Linked DNA regions of Homo sapiens: region 2 is linked to region 1. The links are contacts of gene promoters, found by promoter capture Hi-C in blood cells and fetal thymus (Javierre and others, 2016). All regions are on one chromosome and are shown on one strand. Each heading gives the region's core, a stretch centred on a gene start or on the middle of the fragment in contact. The rest is flanking DNA. Distances are from core to core; before and after follow the strand shown.

Region 1 (6,367 bases), core at 1,660-4,159:
TACACCATTTAATACAATTCATAGGCAAAACACACCAAAACGACTGAGTTAGGCATTATGACATACATTGAATCACAGACATTTGACTATTCAAAACAAGTTACAAGTGACTTCTATTTAATAGTTTTAGTTTCAAAGCATGATCACTTTTACAAATTTCTATTAGTATAAAAACTGAAAACACAAGAGAGTATCAATACATAACATAGTCCCTTCTAGGAAAAATATTAAGAAAGAATAAAGTAAATGCTAAGTATCTATCCTTGTGTTTAATTTTTAAATTTACCATTTCTCAGTGTTTCTGATTATTTAATCAATTCCACAGCAGCTCTAATAGCAATTTTATCCCACATATATGCTTCAAAAAATGGAAAAGTAATGAAATTCAATTTAAGTTCTGCTCTCAAATCAACTTGTGAATGAAAATCTAAATCACAGAAAACCTGAGCTATACATGAGTGAAATGCCTCAAAAAAAGTTCTCAGACACTGTAAATAAAATATTAAACCATAACATTATAGTATATAATTTACTTAACTGAAAACCTATTATGTAAATGGCATAAGGTCTGAAACTGTCCCAAGACAGCAAAACTCCTATTAACTTCAGAGAGAGTTTATAGGACCCAGGAGCTTCACCATCCAAAAGTGTTCAGGCATTTGACACTCATCTGAACAGAAAAAAAAATACAAGTTAGTATTAGAGATTTGCATGGAACCCAGTTTGGGGAGAGGAGGAATAATTATAAACAAATCTGAGTGCTCTGAGAAAGACTTCTTTCAGAACAAAATATCGTCTTCATTTAAAATAGCAATCACAAGGAAATGAATTGAAAAAGTTTTTTTAAAATCCCAACTCTTATTTTACAAAATATTAGCCTTAATAGCATTATAATTACCCACCCTGCTCGTTGACAATCTCAAGAATAATTAGTACTGTCACATTATTCACAAGCTGCTGTGTCAGTTAAATCAATATATGTTTGCTGTTAGAAAGAAGACTATTTGAATAAGCATTTTAAAACTGTAAATTTAAAACTTCAATATGTGCAACTACAATAGTACATTATATTTGTTTTAGCACACATTCATTATCAAAACTCTACTGATAAATCTATTAACTAAAAGTTAAGCTGAAAAAAATGAACAAATTTAGGGGATCTGTAAAACTGGGTTAACGTTAACCAAGAACCTACTATATAAGGACTAATAAGTATTCAAATCTACAGAGAAAAATAATTTTTAAAAGAAATACTTAAAAAGGAAAAAGTTCTCTCTCCTGAGCAGGTTCAAGTCACTGTCCAAAGAAAATCAAAAAGTAAATAAAAAGAATATGTTAAGTACACACATGCCTAGATCTTAACCAGAAAGAAAGTGAAATATACACACGTTTCAAGTTGAGAACCTTCATACATTCTTTATGAACTTGACTTGAATTTCAACTCTCAAAGGAAAATGAGGAGATTAAAAAAAAAAAAACTCTTAAAGTACCATAACTGTCACAAATAACACTGTGAACTGAGTTCTCACAAAGCTTCCTTGTGTCCCTTCCCTGTTCATCACAAAGTCTCATAATCACAATGAAAATTGTTAACACTCTACTGCGGGGAAGGAGGATCATCAAAGTGAAACGGAACCTCACTACTCCCCCTCCCACCTCCACATGAAGGATAAAGCACTGTCAATAACTACTAACCCAAGTATCACAGATGCCCTGCATCCGGTTTAAATCACAAGCACACACACACACACACACACACACACACACACACACACACACACACACACCAAAGAAGAGAGAGGAGACAGACTTTAAAAAAGAAAAACATCTTTCCCAGTACAGCAAAGAGGGCCCAACGAACAGGCCCCAGGTTTCAATATGTGTGCAAGGGGTGTGTGGGGGGGGGGAGAAAGAGGGGGAGGGAAGAGTGCTGAATGGATGTTAAGACTGTTTGCCGCACAAAGAAAATACAGTTTTAAAAAGAAAAAAGAAAACCATGAAGCTGATGATGGTGAAAGAAGAGCAGCCCATTCAGCACCAGGCAAAGAGGGGCAAAAATGAAGGGAATGGGCGGTGGGAAAAGTTCACCAACGTATGAGGATTAAAAATAACAAAACCCATAACAAGGCCCCACAAGTGAACAACAACAACAACAAAACACCACCTCTTGGGTCCCCCCCTTGCACACTGTTGTCTATTTCGGCTTTGAAAGAAGCAGGAAACAGCAGCGTTGGAAAAGAAGAAAATTAAAGAAAGAACAAATTCTTATCTCTTCACCTGACCCTCCTCCTCAGACCAGACCTAAGGGAAAGATCCAGCATCCGCATCGGAAAACTGTGGCTCCCTCTCCCGCTCGGCTCGCAGCCCCCCAAGCTCCCGCTCCATCCCTGAAGTGCGGCCGGCGCAGGGCCGGGGCCGGCGGGCGGCGCGGCGCCCACACCCCCGACCCAGCCGCGGCGCGCAGGGTCCATTGTAAACAAGCCCGGGGAACAGAGCCCCTCGGCGGCGGCGCCGCAGCGGCAGCCCCCGTGTCAGGAGTGAGACCCCAGCACAGCCACACTCGGCTCGCACACACGAACACACACACGCACGGACACACGCGTTCACACGCAGCCACACGCTCCCACACACATGTAGAGACCGAAGAATATTCACCTTGGCTGTGGATTATTGTGGTGTTGTTGGTGGGTGATGGAGATGGTGGTGGTGGGGAGGAGGAGGAGGAAGAGGAGGAGGAGGAGGAGAGGAGTAGTTGTTGTTGATGGGTAACAGTCGCCAGGACTACGGTGACTATGGCGCTTGATTCACAAGGCAACGGTTGCTATAACTCACAAAAGAGAGAGAGAGAGGGAGAGAGAGAGAGAGCGAGAGGGAGAGGGAGACACTCGCACGGGGAGGGGTGGGGGAGGGAAGAGGGGAGGAGGCGGGCCCGGCCAAGCCGCCGGAAGGGGAGGGCGCAGCGCTGTGACTGACGGCCCCCAAACCCGGGTGGGGTGGCGGGGCGGCGGGGTGACGGGGCACGAGGCCGGGATTCCACCGCAGGACTCCGAAGAGGTGCGCCTATGCTTGGCTGGGGCTGAGGTCACCAAGAGTCCTCTCGGAGGGACGTTACTACACGCGCTGGCGAGGCCCAGGAGTCGTGGTGCGAGGGGTACTATCTGTGAAACGAGGGCTGCCTGTCCCAGCAGCCAGCTTTGTACAGAGACGTCCCGGAGCCACGAGAGAGTAACGGCTAACCCGGGGGAGGGGGTGGCGAGGGTGATTCCAGGCACTTTGTGAAGAAACGAGCTATGGCGAGGGAAGAATCCACTTTGAAGAGCGGCCCCCGCCCTGCCCGATACGTTACTTCCGGGGCGGGGCGGGCAGAGGGGCCCGGATGTGCCGCCGCTTTTTAGTTTCTGAGGCGCCGGCGGTGTTCCTGGTAGCGTCAGCCTCCTGGCTTTTCCTTTTCCTGGACGCTTCAGGGCTCCGCGGCCTGCGCTAGACTGGAGGGTCCGCGTCACTCTCGCCCTCCTGCTTTCCGCGCTCTCACCCGCTCCCGCCTCCTGAGGGCACGACTTGTGGAGGAGCGCGGGCGGCGGGGCGTGAGCGAGCTGCCTCTGCCGCCATCTTAGAGAAGGCGAGCGTGGGGTGTGCGTGGGCGCGAGTCGGCCTCCCGCGGTGCCGCCGCAGCGTGGCGCGGAGAGGTGAGGTCCAAGCGTGTCCGGCCCTCACTCCATAACGAAAAAGCGAGGTCATCACTCCCTATCTACAAGGGATGGGAGTAAGTGCCTGTAGAGAGCAAGAAATTGCCCTGCCCGGAGGCTGAGAAAGCGCATTTGGCGGTTCCCCTCGACGGAAGGCGTAGAGGGGCGGGGTAGCTTACACCTGCCTGCGATACCATCCTGTTAGTTTCTAGTTCTGTTAGTTTCAGCCCTTAAGTGCTCACCCCTCTTTAAAGACCGAACTGGGAGTTGAGCTCAAGCCCGGATCCTGTTACCTGCCGTGCTCTCATCCCCCGTTACTCAGCCTACTGTAGCTGAGGGTCTTGCTGTTTGTGGCTGTATTGAGATAGACGAATGGCTTCCGTCTGTGTTGAATGTTGTTAACACAACCTGCCATCTCAAACACCCGTTGATAAGGCACAGCCTGTAATGCCTCATGGTTCAAACAGACTCCTCCAATTCTCTGCAGACTCGAGTCCAGCAGGCACATGCCCCCAGGCCCTGCCAATACCCAAAATCTCCCAACATTTGCCGCTAAGCTGCTTAACCAGGACAATGACATAGTAGAAGTAGAGCCTTAGGAAGTCAGTTCTCCTCTTGAGGCTTAATTTTTGCACCTGCAAGTAAGGGATTTGGGCCGGCATGCGTTCACCAGCGCTAAAATAATACTGAGCTCATTCTGTGTCCCAGAACTGGTGCTAAGTGTTTTACATACATTATCTCATGTAATCCCAACAACACCAGTGTTAGGTAATATTCGCATTTGAGGAAAAACAGGCCGAGAGTCCTAAAAGTCGGTGGTTTTAGTTTATGGCTGCGTGCCATAGAATACAAGGTTACCTTGTTTTAGGAACCAGCTACTTTGGGTACGTTTTTAAAAGTAATATTGTTGCCTTTGATAATCTCATGAGTTAGAGATGTTCTTACAATAATAATGTGTTGCAGTAGTGAACAGTGGTGAGCCTAGTGCTAAAGCTAAAAGGTTTCCTGACCCACTGTGGTAGTAAGGGCTTCTAGTCAGACAAATGATTGTGTGGTGACCAGTGTGGGTCCCATTTGACATACAGATGGGAAATGAGGTATACGTTCCAGCTTTATGAAAACTGGTAGTCGTTATGAATATTCTCTTTATTATATTTACTGATAAAGTCCTCATTCCTATAATGGTGTGTAGGGCTGTATGTTCACACTACATGGCTCTCTGAATAGCTTTGTTTTTTTAAATTCCATTGTCTGTTATAGTTTGCCTGTCCCGTCTTTCATTGTCAGCTGTTGCTTTTTATTTTTGTCAGTGAACATAGTTCTATTATCCTTACCGCCCTTTTAATTTATTGCTCTTAATCTGCAGGCAAGAAAACCACATAGTGAACCTTGTGCAAAACTGTATCTCAAGAGTATAAATAGGTACTTCGAGGGACTATTAAAAAATAAGTGCAACCCTTGTGCTAGGACATTATAGAATCAGTTTTAAGCTGCTTAAATTTTTTTTTTTTTTTTTTTTTTTTTTTTTTGCCTTACAGATTTGGTCTTTTCCAGAGTTAGGAATAGATAAATTTCCTGAAGTTAATTCTTGAAAATTTAGAATTTAGAATATTTTCCCATGTTTTAGGATACTTGATGATGATACAATTCTAACCATATTGAGGTTAATATTTGAAATGTTAGTGTTACTGCCTGATAGGGTTTGGCTTTGTGTCCCCACCCAACTCTCATGTGAAATCGTAATCCGAAAGTGTTGAAGGAGGGGCCCTGTGGGAGATGATTGGATCCTGGGGGCAGTTTCTGATGGTTTAGCACCATCCCACTAGTGCTGTTTCAAGAGTGACTTCTCACGAGATCTGCTTGTTTAAAAATATTTACCACTACCCCTCTCTCACCTGCCACAATGTGAAGAAAGTCCTTGTACCCTTCGCCTTCCGCCATAATGGTAAGTTTCCGTGAGACCTCCCAGTCATGCTTCCTGTTAAGCCTGCAGAACTGTGAGTCAGTTAAACCTCTTTTCTTCATAAATTACCCAGTCTCCGGCAGTTCTTTATAGCAGTGTGAAAAGGTACAAATACACCACCACACTGAATCAGATGACCAAGATACCAGTTCAAGCTATAGAATCGAAAATACGGATTTTATATGCATGTATTGTTTAATACTGTAATTAGTTACAAAAGAACCCAGAAACCTTTTAACCCATAGTTATTGCTTGTAGGATTTTTTTTAGCCATTTTTTAAAGCTGCATAGATGCATCTTCACATATGTTGCATGTATGTTTCAGAAATAAATTATTTGCTAAGAAGTCACAGAAAAGACCCAGTATTGGACCACTCTAACAGTTATCACCTATTATAGTGCAAAACACACTGTGTGATCAATAAAAAAAGGTACATAACCAAGCTAAAATTGGGCAGACATAGTTCCTGAATGTAAAATGTTCAACATTATCTATTAATTTAGAATGTTGTGTTTTAACTTGGATTGTTTTTTTCTCTCCGATCAGAATGATTGGAAGAGACATGGAATAACACATTTGTATCTGAACTACTTGAAGAAAAATCTGAAGCCCTGATGATATATATAGATTGTGTATTTCATAAGTTACTTTAACACATTCGTAGTGGTAGATTTCTGTATTATCTATTAGAGTGTTTTTGCCTATTCATATCTACTC
Region 2 (6,420 bases), core at 2,493-4,992, 2.1 Mb after region 1:
TCTCAAAATATATATATTATTGCTAACAAAATGCTAATGATCTTCAGAGCTTCCAGCAAATAGTAATCTCTTTGCTGCTGGAGGGTCTTGTCCCATGTTGATGGCTGCTGACTGATCAGGGTGGTGGTTGCTGAAGGCTGTAGTGACTGTTCCAAGTTTTTTTTTTTTTTTTGACATGGAGTCTTCCTCGGTCGCCAGGCTGGAGTGCAGTAGCGCGATCTCGGCTCACTGCAACCTCCGCCTCGCAGGTTCAAGCAATTCTCCTGCCTCAGCCTCCCGAGTAGCTGGGACTACAGGCGGGTGCCACCATGCCCAGCTAATTATTATTTTTTTAGTAGATACGGGGTTTCACCATGTTGGCTAGGATGGTCTCGATCTCTTGACCTTGTGATCTGCCTGCCTTGGCCTCCCAAAGTGCTGGGATTACAGGTGTGAGCCACCGCACCTGGCCCCTTTCCAGAAGGTTTTAGATTCACTTTGCTCAGATCCATCAGAGGAATCACTGTGTATAGCAGATCCACTATGTATAGCTGCATTTCATAGCAGCTCTAGCCTTATGAAATGTATTTCTTAAATAATAAGACTTAAAAGTCAAAATTATTCCTTGGTCCACAGCTACAGAATGGATATTGCATTAGCAGGCAAGGAAACAGCATTAATCTCCTTGTATGTCTCCATCAGAATTCTAGGATGGCTAGATGCACTGTCCGTGAACAGTGAAAGTTTGAACTATGTATAGCAGATTCACTATGTATAGCTGCATTTCATAGCAGCTGTAGCCTTATGAAATATATTCCTTAAATAATAAGACTTAAAAGCCAAAATTACTCCTTGGTCCATGGGCTACAGAATGGATACTGCATTAGCAGGCAAGGAAACAGCATTAATCTCCTTGTATGTCTCCATAAATACTCTAAGATGGCTAGATGTGCTATCCATGAACAGTGAAAGTTTGAAATGACTCTTTCATTCCAAGTAGTAGTTCTCAACAAGAGCTTAAAATATTCAATAAATCATACTGGAAACGGATGTGCTATCATCCATGCTTTGCTGTTCCATTTATAGAGCACAGGCAGAGTAGACTTGACATAATTCTTAAGGGCCTTAGGATTCTAGGAGTGGTAAATGAGCACTGGCTTCCACCAAAAAAGCCACCAGCATTATTAGCCGCTAACAAGGGAGTCAGCCTGTCCTTTGAAGCTTGGAAGCCAAGCACTGACTTTTCCTAACTATGGAAGTCCTAGATGGCATCTTATTCCAACAGATGGCTGTTTTGTCTACACTGAAGATCTGTTGTTTAATGTAGCCACCTTTATCAAAGATCTTAGCTAGATCTTCTGGATAACTTGCTGTAGCTTCTACGTCAGTACTTGCTACTTCACCTTGCAGTTTCATGTTATGGACACAGCTTCTTTTGGTAAACCTCATGAACCAACCTCTGCTAGCTTCAAATGTTTCTTCTGCAGTTTCCTTGCCTCCCTTAGGCTTCACAGAATTGAAGAGAGCTAGGGCACTGCTCTGGCCTAGGCTTTGGCTTAAGGGAATGCTTTTTAAAAACTGGTTTTTGCTTCATTTTAGAGACAGGGTCTCACTCTATCACCCAGGCTAGAGTGCAGTGGCGCAGATAGCTCATTGTAATCTGGAACTCCCAGGCTCAAGTGATCCCCGTCTCAGCCTCCCAAGTAGCTAGGACTACAGGTGCACACCATCATACCCAGCTAATTAAAACATTTTTTTTTAAAGAAATGGGGTCTTGCTATATTGCTCAGGCTGGTCTCGAAGTCTTAGGCTCAAGTAATCCTCCTGTCTCAGCCTCCCACAGTGCTGGGATTAAGGCATGAGGCACTGCGTCTGGTTTAAGGGAATGTTGTAGCTTGCTTGATCTCCTACCCAGACCATTAAAACTTTCTCCAGGTCAGCAACAAGGCTGTTTTGTTTTATCATTCCTATGTTCTCCAAAGTGGTACTTTTACTTTCCTTTAAGAACTTTTTTTCCTTTGCATTCATAACTTGGCTAACTGGTACAAGAGGCCTAGCTTTTGGCCTATCTTTGCTTTCAATATGCCTTCCTCACTTAGTTTAATCATTTCTAGCTTTTTACTTAAAGTGAGAGACGGGGATTCTTTCTTTCACTTGAACACTTAGAGGCTACTGTTGGGTTACTAACAGGCCTAATTTCAATATTGTTGCATCTCAGGGGATAGGGAGGCCCAAAGAAAGGGAGAGAGACAGAGGAACTGCCAGTTGATGGAACAGTCAGAACACACATAACATTTATCGCTTAAGTTCTCCATCTTACATGGATGTGGTACATGACACCCCAAAACAATTACAATAGTTACAACAAAGACCACTGACCACAAATCATCATAACAGATATACTAATAATGAAAAAGTTTCAAATATTGAAAGAATTACCAAAATGTGATAAGAGCCATGAAGTGAGCATATGCTATTAGAAAAAATGGTGCCAATAGACTCACTCAACACAGGGTTACCACAAACCTTATATTAAAAAAAAAAATTGCACCAAATCATACTTCCATCAAGAGAGTATAAATGTATCCCCATTTCTTATGTGTACTCTTACCAACATTATTTCTAGTAATTTAAAAAGTTTATAAGTTTCATAGATGAAAACATGCACCTAGTAACTTTTTTTTTTTTTTTTGAGACAGGATTTCATTCCTTTCACTCAGGTGGGAGTGCAATAGCATGATCTTGGCTCACTATTACCTCTGCCTCCCAGGCTCAAGCAATTCTCCTGCCTTAGCCGCCTAAGGGGCTGGGACCACAGGTGTATGCCACAGTGCCGACTGATTTTTTGTAGAGACAGGGTTTCACCATGTTGCCCAGGCTGGTCTCAAACTCCCGGGCTCAAGTGATCCGCCCACCTCTGCCTCCGAAAGTGCTGGGATTACAGGCGTGATTACCCTGCCCGGCCCCCTACTAACTTTTATCATAAGCTTAATCTTAGAACAGAGTCCAAAAATTTTGACAGGAGTGGTGGTGGAAACTAGTAGAAAAAGGAGGAGAAGACCTAAGGCATGAGAACTGTCAGTATATTTTACAAAATAAAGTTAAAATATGATATTTGAAAGTTGAAGCCAGGCACGGCGGTTCACACCTGTTATCCCAGCACTTTGGGAGGCCGAGGCTGGTGGATCATTTGAGGCTAGGAGTTGGAGACTAGCCTGGCACATGATGAAACCCCATCTCTACTAAAAATACAAAAACTAGACAGGCGTGGTGGTGCATGCCTGTAGTCCCAGCTACTCAGGAGGCTGAGGCACAAGAATCACTTGAACCCGGGAGGCGGAGGTTGCAGTGAGCCAAGATTGCACCACTGCACTCCAGCCTGGGTGACAAAGCAATGCTCTGTCTCAAAAAAAAAAAAAAAAAGAAAGAAAGAAAAAGAAATGATGTTGAAAAATCCAGCCAATAACATTTTTGTCACAATAGGGGAACTCTCAAGTATAGGGTTTTGGAGAGTCAGATATTTCCTTTTCTCCCCGCCAGGGAGAAAGACCTAGAGGTTTCCCCCACTCCCTCTCACTGTCCAGAGCAATTACCACAATTTAGTTCAGCCTAAAGAGCATATGCTGTTGGAAAAACAGCAACAATAGACTTACTTGATGCAGGGATGCCATAAGCCTTAATTTTTTTTTTTTTTTTTGAGACAAAGTCTCACTCTGTTACCCAGCCTGGAGTGCAGTGGAGCGATCTCGGCTCACCGCAACCTCTGCCTCCCAGGTTCAAGCAATTCTCCTGCCTTATCCTCCAGAGTAGCTGGGATGACAGGTGCATATCACCATGCCTGGCTAATTTTTGTATTTTTTTTTTTTTAGCAGAAAGACAGGGTTTCACCATATTGGCCAGGCTGGTCTCAAACTCCCGACCTCATGATCCGCCTGCCTTGGCTTCCCAAAGTTTTGGGATTACAGGCATGAGCCACCGCGCCCAGCCAAACCTTAAATTTTTAAAAAAATCACACAGGAGGCTGGGTGCGGTGGCTCACGCCTGTAATCCCAGCACTTTGGGAGGCCGAGGTGAGCGGATCACCTGAGGTCGGGAGTTCCAGATCAGCCTGACCAACATGGAGAAACCTCGTCTCTACTAAAAATACAAAATTAGCCAGGCATGTTGGTGCATGCCTGTAATCCCAACTACTCCAGAGGCTGAGGCAGGAGAATTGCTTGAACCCAGGAGGTGGAGGCTGCAGTGAGCTGAGATGGCACCATTGCACGCCAGCCTGGGCAACAAGAGCGAAACTCCACCTCAAAAAAAAAAAAAAAGAAAGAAATCACACTGGATCTGTAGAAAGAACATCAGTTCTTTTCAGGCCATGTGAATTCAGGCACATCTACCACACCTGTCCTGTTTCCTCACTTGAGAAAGTGAGAATAACAACATCACACCAATGTCACTCACCTTGAATGTTTACTATGAATTAAATCAAGACAAGCATTTGGAATTATTTTGTGAATCTTAAGTGCTACACAGGAGTGTGGCAGAGGAATAAGCTTCTAAAGTCAGCAAGTAAGGTTAAAATTGAGTGCAATAAAAATTGCTTAGAAGTTCCTTAAATTGCCCATGAGCACAGTATGACAAACTTGAGACACATGAGAACAAAGACTCTCTGAGAGACAGCTGGGACAAACATTCAGTAACACTGCCAGCAAAATTGCTGCACTAGAACATTTTCATTTCCTCTTTCTGCCAAGTGCATAACTGAATCTAAGATGAAAGTATGATGCAACTTTGTTATTCTACAATTTGAAATTGGCAAGTTAAGAAACCTCTCTGGGCCTCTTTGTCTAATGGTGTAGCTCAGCTGGATCAGGGTTTCCTCCACGGTTTGTCTGACAAATACTGCCAGCTTACTATGCTTACTATGTTCCAGGCTGCTGTGTTGGACTGGGGGAGGGTAGACGCCAAGGAGACAATCTGATCGCAACAGGCTGGTGAGTGGTGAGGCAGTTTCAACCTCCATTTGAGGAATACAGGATTCTATCATCACCTTCCAGGGAATGCAGTGAATGTTTAGAAAAATTACAGAAAGTTACATATTTGGTTATGAATACCAGCTACAATGCTATATCTAATATGAATTAAGTTTCTTTGTTTCCTTTTTTCTGTTTATGTTGCTACTTTTTTTTTTTTTTTTGAGACAGTCTCACTCTGTTGCCCAGGCTGGAGTGCAGTGGAGGGATCTTGGTTTGCTGCAACTTCCGCCTCCCAGGTTCAAGCGATTCTCCTGCCTTAGCCTCCTGAGGAACTGGGATTACAGGCACCTGCCACCACGCCCAGCTAATTTTTGTATTTTCAGTAAGACGGGGGTTTCACGATGTTGGCCAGGCTGGTCTCGAACTGCTTACCTAAAGTGATCTGCCCGCCTCGGCCTCCCAAAATGCTGGGATTACAGGCGTGAGCCCCAGCACCCCGCCTACGTTGCTACTTTTTAATGTGGGGTCATTTTTTAAACCTGGCTTTTTAATTGAAAAAGTAATACAAACATATGGAAAAATTCAAACTGTACTAAAAAAGGTAGACAATGAGAAGCAAATCTTTCTTCTATTTCAGACTCCTCCTTCCCCCATTCCACACCATATCCCCTCAACCCTCCTTCTATTCAGACGTTACCACTGGGTCAATCCGTTGAAAGTTACAGCTAAGGTGATACCTGGGGTCCAAAAGCTAAATATGGACCTACGCTATCACCAGTCCCTTCCAGTTCTAAAACTAAGTCCAAGCCTTTTGCAGCACGAAAGAGATAGCCTCCTCTCATCTAAAGTTATGGCTGGTAAGGCTGAGACGAATGGAAATGGATTTCAAAGACATAGATTTAGAACTCCTGAAAGGCAGGAGACAGAACTCAATACTTTCATGGTGAGTGGTTTATTTACTGATTAAATAAACGCTCCCTTAGGGATGTAAGCTCCACACCGGCAGGAGCTTCATCACCAGCTCTCACTGCAGACCCCGGCATTAAAGGAGCTCACACGGTAAAAGCCCCTACCGCCCACCACAGCCACAGCGGCCGGCAGCCCAAAGTGGGAAACCGCGCCGGCCGTCACGTGACTCCAGCTCCCCCCGGCAACCGGCCCGCCCCCACCGAGACCCCGCCAATCCGGAAGGGAGGTCCAATTTGGCCAGGCCAGGGCGTGTTCCACCGGCCCAGTAGCCTTGCTGCTGCGTTATCCCTAGACTCGCCCCACTTGCCTCGGAGTCTCAGGCCGTTGCCTAGGTCCTCCCGGTAAAACCCTGGAGACTGCTAGGGAGAGGAGCAAGGGAGGGGCCAGCGCGCAGAAGTGCGGACGCAACCCGGCGGCCGCGGGCGAGGCTTATGCAGAGCTTCAAGAAACAGCTAGGGAGACCGCAGGAGTCTCCAGAGCGCGCGCGCGGGCCCTCCCCGGCCCG

What was found. The method cuts DNA at HindIII sites, captures the fragments that hold promoters and counts their contacts. A CHiCAGO score of 5 or more calls a contact.
Region 2: a contact is called between a fragment that was not itself captured here and the fragment with the promoter of RFX3 in region 1, in 2 of 17 cell types (fetal thymus and naive CD4 T cells). The highest score is 11.9, in fetal thymus.

The regions. Positions count from the first base shown.
Region 1 is chr9:3,523,092-3,529,458 of GRCh38, forward strand. RFX3 (regulatory factor X3) reads right to left here and starts at 2,910. Exons shown (of 17, transcript NM_001282116.2): 1 at 2,656-2,910. It overlaps LOC124902110 (a long non-coding RNA gene), which reads left to right and starts at 3,394. Exons shown (of 8, transcript XR_007061398.1): 1 at 3,394-3,686. RefSeq lists enhancers at 2,051-2,667, 3,245-3,294, 3,555-3,854 and silencers at 2,355-2,444, 2,875-3,064. The HindIII fragment of the contact is 14,491 bases long and covers 1,532-6,367 here.
Region 2 is chr9:5,622,568-5,628,987 of GRCh38, forward strand. All of the region lies in intron 1 of INCR1 (interferon stimulated noncoding RNA 1), which reads right to left. Among named protein-coding and RNA genes, the nearest start is that of RIC1, 3.3 kb to the right of the region's middle. RefSeq lists an enhancer at 4,730-4,949 and a silencer at 6,300-6,420. The HindIII fragment of the contact is 1,557 bases long and covers 2,965-4,521 here.